Linked DNA regions of Homo sapiens: region 2 is linked to region 1. Evidence: promoter capture Hi-C in 16 types of primary human blood cells and fetal thymus (Javierre and others, 2016). All regions are on one chromosome and are shown on one strand. The core of a region is centred on a gene start or on the middle of the fragment in contact, and the rest is flanking DNA. Distances in the headings are between cores, read along the strand shown.

The links. Contacts are between HindIII fragments. The CHiCAGO score rates a contact against its expected background, and 5 or more counts as called.
Region 2: a fragment that was not itself captured here is called in contact with the fragment with the promoter of RBL2 in region 1 in 5 of 17 cell types (neutrophils, naive CD8 T cells, non-activated CD4 T cells and 2 more); the score reaches 10.5 in neutrophils.

Annotation. Positions count from the first base shown.
Region 1 is chr16:53,432,037-53,436,392 of GRCh38, reverse strand. RBL2 (RB transcriptional corepressor like 2) reads right to left here and starts at 1,922. Exons shown (of 22, transcript NM_005611.4): 1 at 1,597-1,922. The coding sequence starts at 1,836. RefSeq lists an enhancer at 928-1,037 and a silencer at 1,648-1,867. The HindIII fragment of the contact is 5,814 bases long and covers 1-4,356 here.
Region 2 is chr16:53,155,515-53,159,870 of GRCh38, reverse strand. CHD9 (chromodomain helicase DNA binding protein 9) reads right to left here. Exons shown (of 39, transcript NM_001308319.2): 2 at 2,330-3,945. The coding sequence starts at 3,781. Among named protein-coding and RNA genes, the nearest start is that of CHD9, 100 kb to the right of the region's middle. The HindIII fragment of the contact is 1,371 bases long and covers 1,949-3,319 here.

The DNA of each region.
Region 1 (4,356 bases), core at 673-3,172:
TGAGTAATCAAACATGTTTTCAAAAATAATTTACTAACCAGCTATTACGTGATACTTGCTCATGTATCACTAGACTTCATACAACTTAACTGCTATGAGTTGAAATACCTCAAATAAATGGCGATAATGCTTGTTCTATCTGATTTACAGGATTATCTTGAGGGTAAAATAAGAGCTTGTTTGGAAGCCTTTAAGGCCATTTACCAAAAAAAAACCCAAAAAACAAAAAACAACATAAAAAGCCAACCAGTCCTTCTCTTTGCCAGACTACAGAAAGGCACTGAGAGATGAATAGGAACATAGCTTACTCAGCCAGATCATGTAAATATACAAAGAGCTTAGTAAACTTGAAAACACTGTCCATATGGGTGCTTTATGTGCCAGAAACTACATTATTGCCTTATTTAATCTTCAGAACAGCTCTGTGAGGTAAACACAAATATCTCCAGTTTAGAGATCACCATACTGAACTTTTCCAGCGGTTTCAGGTCTGTCGGGTTCTAAAGCCACCATACACTATCTTCTGCAGACCTAACAATTCAAAGAGGGAACTAGTAATTGAATTAAAATTCTATTAATGCAAATACAAATTAAAAATAACCTCACTCATCAGTACACATAGCCAAAAACATCATATTTAAATAATACCTTGGTTAGGCTTTGCATCCTGGACCTATTTGCCCGACTCTTTCTACAAATTAATTATAAAACGACTTGAGAAATCAAATGGCCTCAGGTTTAAATGCCACACACACAGTCAAACAGCTGATAAACAATCCGTACTTCCGTGTCACTTCCCATTGGCCCATGAAGGGGAGGTGCATACAAAGCTGACACTCACTGGCTAGAATGGCCATTTTTCTCATCTGCAAGCCCTGTCCGAAGGCTGCGACCTAACACACCCGGATCGCAACAACAACAGGAGTCCTGTGCAATGCCCGGGGTGACCAAAAAGCCCTCGAGGTAGCCACAGTCCTGATCCTAGTGACAAATGGGGGCATGTGTCTACATCCGGGTCGGCGGAGGGCTCATTTCATCTGGCCTGGGGGGAAATGAGTATTAATTTGTTTACACAGACGTAAACACAGCCCAAAACGCATCAGCACGTTGACTCAAACGCCCGCAACGCCAGGGCAAAGGCAATTTGGTTAACAGGGGGAAGCGAACAGACGGAGACGCCTGGAGACCCAGGTGCCACAACCCGGTTAATCGCGGTGCAAATAAGGGCAAGTCCCCTCCCCTTGTCCGTGTGGTCTTGACAACGACACTAGTTCATTCTACTAACAAGGCGGGCGGGGGGTCAGATGGGCCACACACACCCATTTTCCTCAACGGGACCCCAGCGCGATCTCAGCCTTGCTGTGCTACTTTAGGGCAAGACGCGTTCCCCATTCGGAAGCCGCAGGAAAGCGCGGCGAGAGCGGGTTAGCCCTCGGAGCGGCTAAGAGCCTCGGAATAGCGCAGAGGAAGTCCCCACCCCTCTCGGGGCTGGGAGCCCGCAACCCGCCCGAGAGTCTCTCGAGGCGCGCGACGCGGCTCGGAAGGCACCGGTTCACGCCAACTAGGCCGGAAGCGCCCCTCCGCCCGCGAGCGCACCTCCAGCGTGTAGCTTTCGCTCATGCTGCGGTAGCTGTCCCAGGCCTCGGCCCGCGCCGCCTCGTCCATGTTGAGGCGGCTGCACAGCTCGTCGAACCGCTGCTGGATCTGAGGGGTGGGCGACTCGGCAGGCGGCGCGGCGTCTTCCGCCTCGCCGTCGTCCTCCTCCTCCTCATCCGAGGCTGCCGCCGCCGGAGGGGGAGGCGGGGGCGGTGGCGACTGGTCACCTCCCGACGGCATAGCGCACCCCTGGGCGGCCGGACCTCAGGTGAGGTGAGGGCCCGGGCCCGCAGCCATTCAAACGGCGAAGCGCCCGCCCGTCCGCCGCCCGCACCGCGCCTGCGCCGCCGCAAACGACGCTGACCGCCTGCAGGCACCCGTAGTCTTGAGCACGGGCTGCTGGGAAACGTAGTCCAGGCCGGCGGTTCAAGGGGGCCAAAAATCATGTTTAAAAAAATTAGCTCCCCTAGTTTCACCAGGGGTGAAATAAAAGCACCTTCCCCGCATTTTAAACACGTACCTCCCCACCGTGAGAACATTCAACAGGGCTGTACTGACGAGAAAATGTCCAAAAGACACTGACGTGTGAAGGTTTCGTATCCAGGCTGTTCCCAGAAGTAAAACTTCCTCATCGCCTGGATATCCTTATCTAAAAAATAGGGATAATAGCAAGGGCCTGTCTCTGTACGTTCACGAAACTGCCTTTGCAAAAATCCTAACAGTGAGAAAGTTATGACAGTGCAAGGGATCTGACCTAAATGACTCCACGCTTCTCACTTCCGAGCTGCCCTTGTTCATTCCTGGGCGAAGACCTAACTAACTACAGGAGGAATTTAATTTCTAATTTCACTTTGAAACAAAGATTGTAACAGTCCTTTCCAAAAACAAACCCCATTCTTGCCTGGGGATCAGTCTGCCTTTGTAGAACTAACAAATTAGCCACAAGATTAGAAATTATGATTTAGGAGGCTTGCAGCCAGAGGCTATAAGATTCCTGACCTCCCCAATTGCTCTCAGGGATAACATCACTATTGTAAAACCTAAGATTGGTGCTGGAGATACTTTTCAGACCGCGCATTCCGATGCACTAGCTGGCGCCACTCAGACCATAATCTGGCTCAACAAGTTCTGCAATTCCACTCAGTAACAGAAGACAGCAAGAGCCCACTTCAACCCCCTGTGATTTCACCTCCCACCTGACAAATTAGCATTCGCCAATCCCTGGCCCCCTACCCGCCAAGTCATTCTTTAAAAACCCCAGTCTCCGAATTTTCTGGTAGGCTGATTTGAATAACCAAACTCCTGTCTGCCGTTCAGCTGGCTCTGCGTGAATTAAACTTTTTTTTTTTTTTTGAGACAGAGTCTGGCTCTGTTGCCCAGGCTGGAGTGTAGTGGCACGATCTCGGCTCACTGCAACCTCCGCCTCCTGGGTTCAAGCGATTCTCCTGCCTCAGCCTCCTGAGTATCTGGGATTACAGGTGTGCGCCACCGCACCCAGCTAATTTTTGTATTTTCAGTACAGGCAGGGTTTCACCATGTTGGCCAGGCTGGTCTCGAACTCCTGACCTCAAGTGATCCACCCACCTCGGCCTCCCAAAGTTCTGGGATTACAGGCGTGAGCCACCGTGCCCAGCCAATTCATTTTATTTCCAATTCTCCTTTCTTTATTTTAATTTTTTAAATTGCCAATCCTTGATTTATAAATGGGCTTGATATAAAACATTTTCCAGATTGAGGAGCAATCTGAGGATTGAGCAATTTGAGGATTCAGAAGGCATTACTGTTTTGCTATTTTTGTTTTGCTTGGTGGGATATGTAAACTGACAGAGGGAAAAGTGCTGGGACAAAAGTAGGGGCTTATGGAAGGTATAATGACAGGCGGGAGGACAGGAAATGGAACTCTGAAGATAGGAGAAAATCAGGTAGACAGGTAACAGGATATTTCAGGAACAATTTTGAGACAATGGAACCCTCTTAAGAAAACCTTAGTAAAATTCACAGTAATCAGCAATGCTTTTGGAGTTGGCTAAGTGATGAGTCTCAAGGTGACTATGGGGCAAGAACAGAAGTTGAACACAAATGGTTTAGAAGTATCTTAAGTATATAGGCTGGACGTTGTGGATCACACCTGTAAATCCAGCACTTTGGGAGGTCAAGGTGGGAGGACTGCTTGAGTACAGGAGTTCGAGACCAGCCTGGGCGACATAGTGAAACCCTGTCTCTACAAAAAATAGAAAAATTAACCCAGAGTGGTGGTACACGCCTGTAATCCTAGCTACTTGGGAGACTGAGGTGGGAGGAACGCCTAAGCCTGGGGAGTCTGCAGTGAACTGTGACCATGCCACTACAGCTTGGGCAACAGAGACCCTGTCTCAAAAAAATAATAATAAATAATTTGGCAAGGCGCGGTGGCTCACGCCTGTAATCCCTACACTTTGGGAGGCCAAGGCGGGCAGATCACTTAAGGTTAGGAGTTTAAGACCAGCCTGGCAAACATTGTGAAACCCCATTTCTACTAAAAATACAAAAAATTAGCCAGGAGTGGTGGCTGGTGCCAGTAATCCCAGCTACTCAGGAGGCTGAGGCAGGAGAATTGCTGGAACCCAGGAGGCAAAGACTGCAGTTAGCTGGGATCATGCCACTGCACTCCAGCCTGGGCGACAGAGCAACTCCATCTCAATAAATAAATAAATTAATAAATAATAAGTGTATTAAAATCTTAGTATTTTACCTGTATATACACTGGGAATATTGATTTTA
Region 2 (4,356 bases), core at 1,385-3,884, 280 kb after region 1:
TCAAGGCCGGTGGATCACCTGAGGTCAGGAGTTCAAGACCAGAGATCAGCCTGGCCAACATGCTGAAACCCCGTCTCTACTGAAAATACAAAAATTAGCTGGGCATAGTGGCACACACCTATAATCCCAGCTACTCAGGAGGCTGAGGGAGGAGAATCACTTGAACCTGGGAGGCAGAGGTTGCAGTGAGTGGAAATTGTGTCAGTGCACTCTAGCCTGGGAGACAGAGTGAGACTCCTTCTCAAAAAAGGAAAAAAGAAATAGAACTATAGTCAATCCAATGGGAAAGACAAAGATTTTTTCTTTTTCAAATACTTCAAGGCTTTAAAATGAAAAATGGATCCCTAAATATTTAATTTCAAGAACTTTGGTATATTTCATTGTCCACAGAATCTCACAGGTAACCAAGGTATTGAAGCATTTTATGAATCCTTAATTTAACAAGAGAATTTTTAAAAACATAAAATATTACATTAATTTTTTATTATAAAAGTAATATGTTCACGACAAAATTGTAGAAAGTAAGGGAAAAACTGCACTACTTAAACCTATTTTCTTCTGGTATTTTTTTCATATACAAATTTTCTTTTTTTCTCAGAGGGTCTGATTCTAATGCCTAGACTGGCAGTGGTGTGATCATGGCTTACCTCAGCCTGGAACTCCTGGGTTTGAGCTATCTGCTCACCTCAGCCTCTTGAGTAGCTGGGACTACAGGAGTGCACCATCATACCTGGCTAATTTTTTAAAAATGTATTTATTGTAGAGACAGAGTATCGTTACATGGTCCAGGCTGGTCTGGAATTCCTGGTCTCAAGCAATCCTCTCACCTCAATCTCCCAAAGTGCTGGGATTACAGGCATAAGCTAACATAACTGGCCCATATACATATTTTCATACTACTATGAAAAAAAGTATAATTAATAAAAACACTTAAGACTGGGCAGAGTGTCTCACGTCTATAATCCCAGCACTTTGGGAGGCCGAGGAGAGTGGACTGGTTGAGTACAGGAGCTCAAGATTAGCCCAGGCAACATGGCAAGATCACATCTTTACAAAAAATACAAAAAAAGCCAGGCATGGTGGCACATGCCTATAGTCCCAGCTACCCAGGAGGCTGAGGCAGGAGGATCACCTGAGCCCAGGGAGGTTGAGGCTGCAGTGAGCCCTGATGGTGCCACTGCACTTCAAACTGGGTGACAGAGTGAGACCCTGTCTCAAAAGAAAAATTAAAAAAAAACAAAAAAAAGTATTAATTTCTAACTATATGCTAGGCATAGTCTAAGCATGTTTACATGTTATAAATCTATTAATCCTTTATTATTTCACATTTTAAAGATGAGGAAAAAGAGACGCACGGAAATTATCTAAGTCAAAGTCACCCAACTACTAAGTAACAGGACCCACAATTCTAAACCAGGTAGTCTGGTATCAAAGGCCACACTCTTAACCTTACTTCACTGTGATCTTAATTTTGAATTACGCTCTTTTCTCCATCATTAACATATTCTCAATGTTAGTGTTCAAAATCTTTTTAGTGCCTATGGTCTATCGTGATTACAATAATGAGCTATGCTTTTTTCAGCTGTCCCTTGTAAGTATATTAAGACAAATATCTTTGGGTATATACTTCTGCTATGTCTGGGTTATTAAAATGGAGAATTTTTATATTCTTTAATCTAGTACCAAATTGCTTTTCAAAATATTTGCATTAATTAACAAAGCCATGTAGGTACCAATTTCACCATAAATTTGTCAGCATTAAGCATTAACATTTAACATGTTTTTCTAATAGGTAAAAATAAAACCATTCTAAATTTATTTTTTATTATTAAAGCTGCATATTATTCTGGTTTTGTTTACTAATTTAATTTCCTTTTTGTGAATTTCAGCTTATATGTTTTATCTAGTTATCAACTGAGGTCTTAAAAGTTTGCTAATTTATAAAGCTTTTTATAGGAATATTAACTCAATGTTAATTGTATTTGCAATAAAATTTTCCCAGTCTGGTTTTTCCCTTTTAATTATGATTATTAAGTTGTTTTTGATAAAATAACTTTCTCTCAAAGGTATTCATAAACATCACAAAAGAAGTCTTAACACCTTATAATTTTCTAAATATAGAAGCTAATCTATTGCTTTGAGCATATCAGTGAATCACTTTCAATACAAGACTTGTAAAACAATATAAACCTATATCAAAATATGTATGTTCACTTAATGGAATTACCAAGTTTGAGAAATCTTGACTATGTTTCATATAAAATTAACCCAATGACTAACAGTCCGCCCTACCCCCAAATCTCCAAAATAAAAGCAAAGAGCTACATACCTGTCGCTGTAAACATAGGTGATTTCTGTCATGTAAATGCTGATGATTAGAAAATGATGAATGCCAACTCCGAGCCTGACTTTGCAACTGAGTCTGAGCCATATCAGAAGGCCGTGTTACCAGATGCGAAGTAAACTGCCGATCAAGGTCATGATCTAAAATGTGACTTGAATTATCTTGTCCGAATGTTGACTCATCAAAGTGAGGAAGAAGACCCTCCTGAAGGAGGTCCTCGGGGTCAAGTCCTGTGAATGGCTCAGTTTGAGATTCCACTTGATGAAGTAAATTCTCTTCTAAAGATGAAAAGCCATTAGTTTCTACATGATCATTGAAATGGCCCATTTGAGTTCCTGAGTCAACAGGATCTGGGAAGTTCATGTGCACAGGAGATAATTTTGAATTGCTATAATTACCCTGAGGATGTGATGAATGCAATATTTGGAAATTATTTGAATTCAATGATGTATTGGGGTTTAGGATATGCTGAGTAGATTCTTGCTTGATTCCTCTATGAGGTGAAAAGGAATTACTTCCAGTAAAATCAGATAAAGTCTGATTTGTATGATTAGATGCAAGAACTGCAGAGGACTGAAGTAGACTGTTTGGTGATATATGATTACTGGAAAAGGAATAATGTGAAGAAAATTGCTGTGAATTACTGACAGAACAAGAAGTCATATTTGGGGAAGGTCCATTAAAATTTCCTTCTTGATGACTGCTACACTTGTGGAAGTGTGCTGAAGGATTTGACGTTTGAGAAAATTGCTGCATTGAAATAGACTGTTGTGAATTAGATGCATTAGTCATCTGTGGTGGGTGGTTAACATTGACTCTATGTGGACCAGAAACATTCATAAAATTTTTAGACTGGCTAAGAGAATTCTGCCCTGGGTTGAGATTATTTCTGTTTTGTTGTGAGCGTAGTGAAGTACACTGTGTTTGTTGTTCATTGGCCTGAAATAAGGCAAAGTCATGGTGTGCCACAAAGCTTTTATTTTGATGCATAGAGTGTGAATGTCCTTGTTGGTGAAAAGGAGATCCATTTTGATTTGAAATGGTAGTAGCTGTCTGATGGCCCCACATTGGACTGCCATCTGATACATCTGGAAACAAACCATTGGGTTGGTTTTGGGGATGGATTGGAGAACAATTAAACTGAGAGTGTGGAGATAACACATGTTCAGCTGGGCTACCAAAAGATTGATTAACATGGTGAAATTTTATTGAATCAAATTGATTTAACTGTTCAAAATCAGTCATCTTCTGATGTGTTGGAGTACCTTGAACATGGTTCAGTGAATCTATGTGCAACGGTTCAAATTCTGCACCCAAATTCAATTCATCAACTAGTGAAACAGGTCCTGGTTGTACAAATGCATCATCTGACAAACCTTCTAAGGTCTCACCAAAAAGATTGGCATCATCAAAAAAGTCCATCATTGGATCTGTCATCTTGAAAATTCTGTAACAATCCGGGCTGTTCACTCCAAATGGAGTATATTCAGCTTCTCTATAGTAGATATTATTGGATCATTTCCGAAGGTCATCAACTAATCCAAAACAGGTCAATATTCATTATTGCTCTAAATAATGACATGTCATGAAGTGTCAAAATCCTAGAAAAAAAGGAACAAAAACAATAAAGAGAAATTAAGTACTGATACATGCTACAACAAAAATGAACTCTGAAAACATTATGCTAAGTGAAAGAGGTCAGTCACAAAATACCACATATTATATGACTCGATTTATATAAAATGTCAAAAGTAGGCAAGTATATATAGAGAGAAAATAGATTAGTGGGTCACCTAGAGCTGGTGGCATGGTGGGTGGGTAGAAAGGACTGGTGATTGGTGAGTGATAGCTACAGGTTATGGGATTTCTTTTGGGGGTAACGAAAATGCTCTAAAATTGGTTATGGTAATGGATAAACAACTCTGAGTATGCTAAAAGCCACTAAATATACACTTTAGATGAATGAATTGTATGGTATCTGAATTATATCTCAATAAAGCTACTTTAAGAAT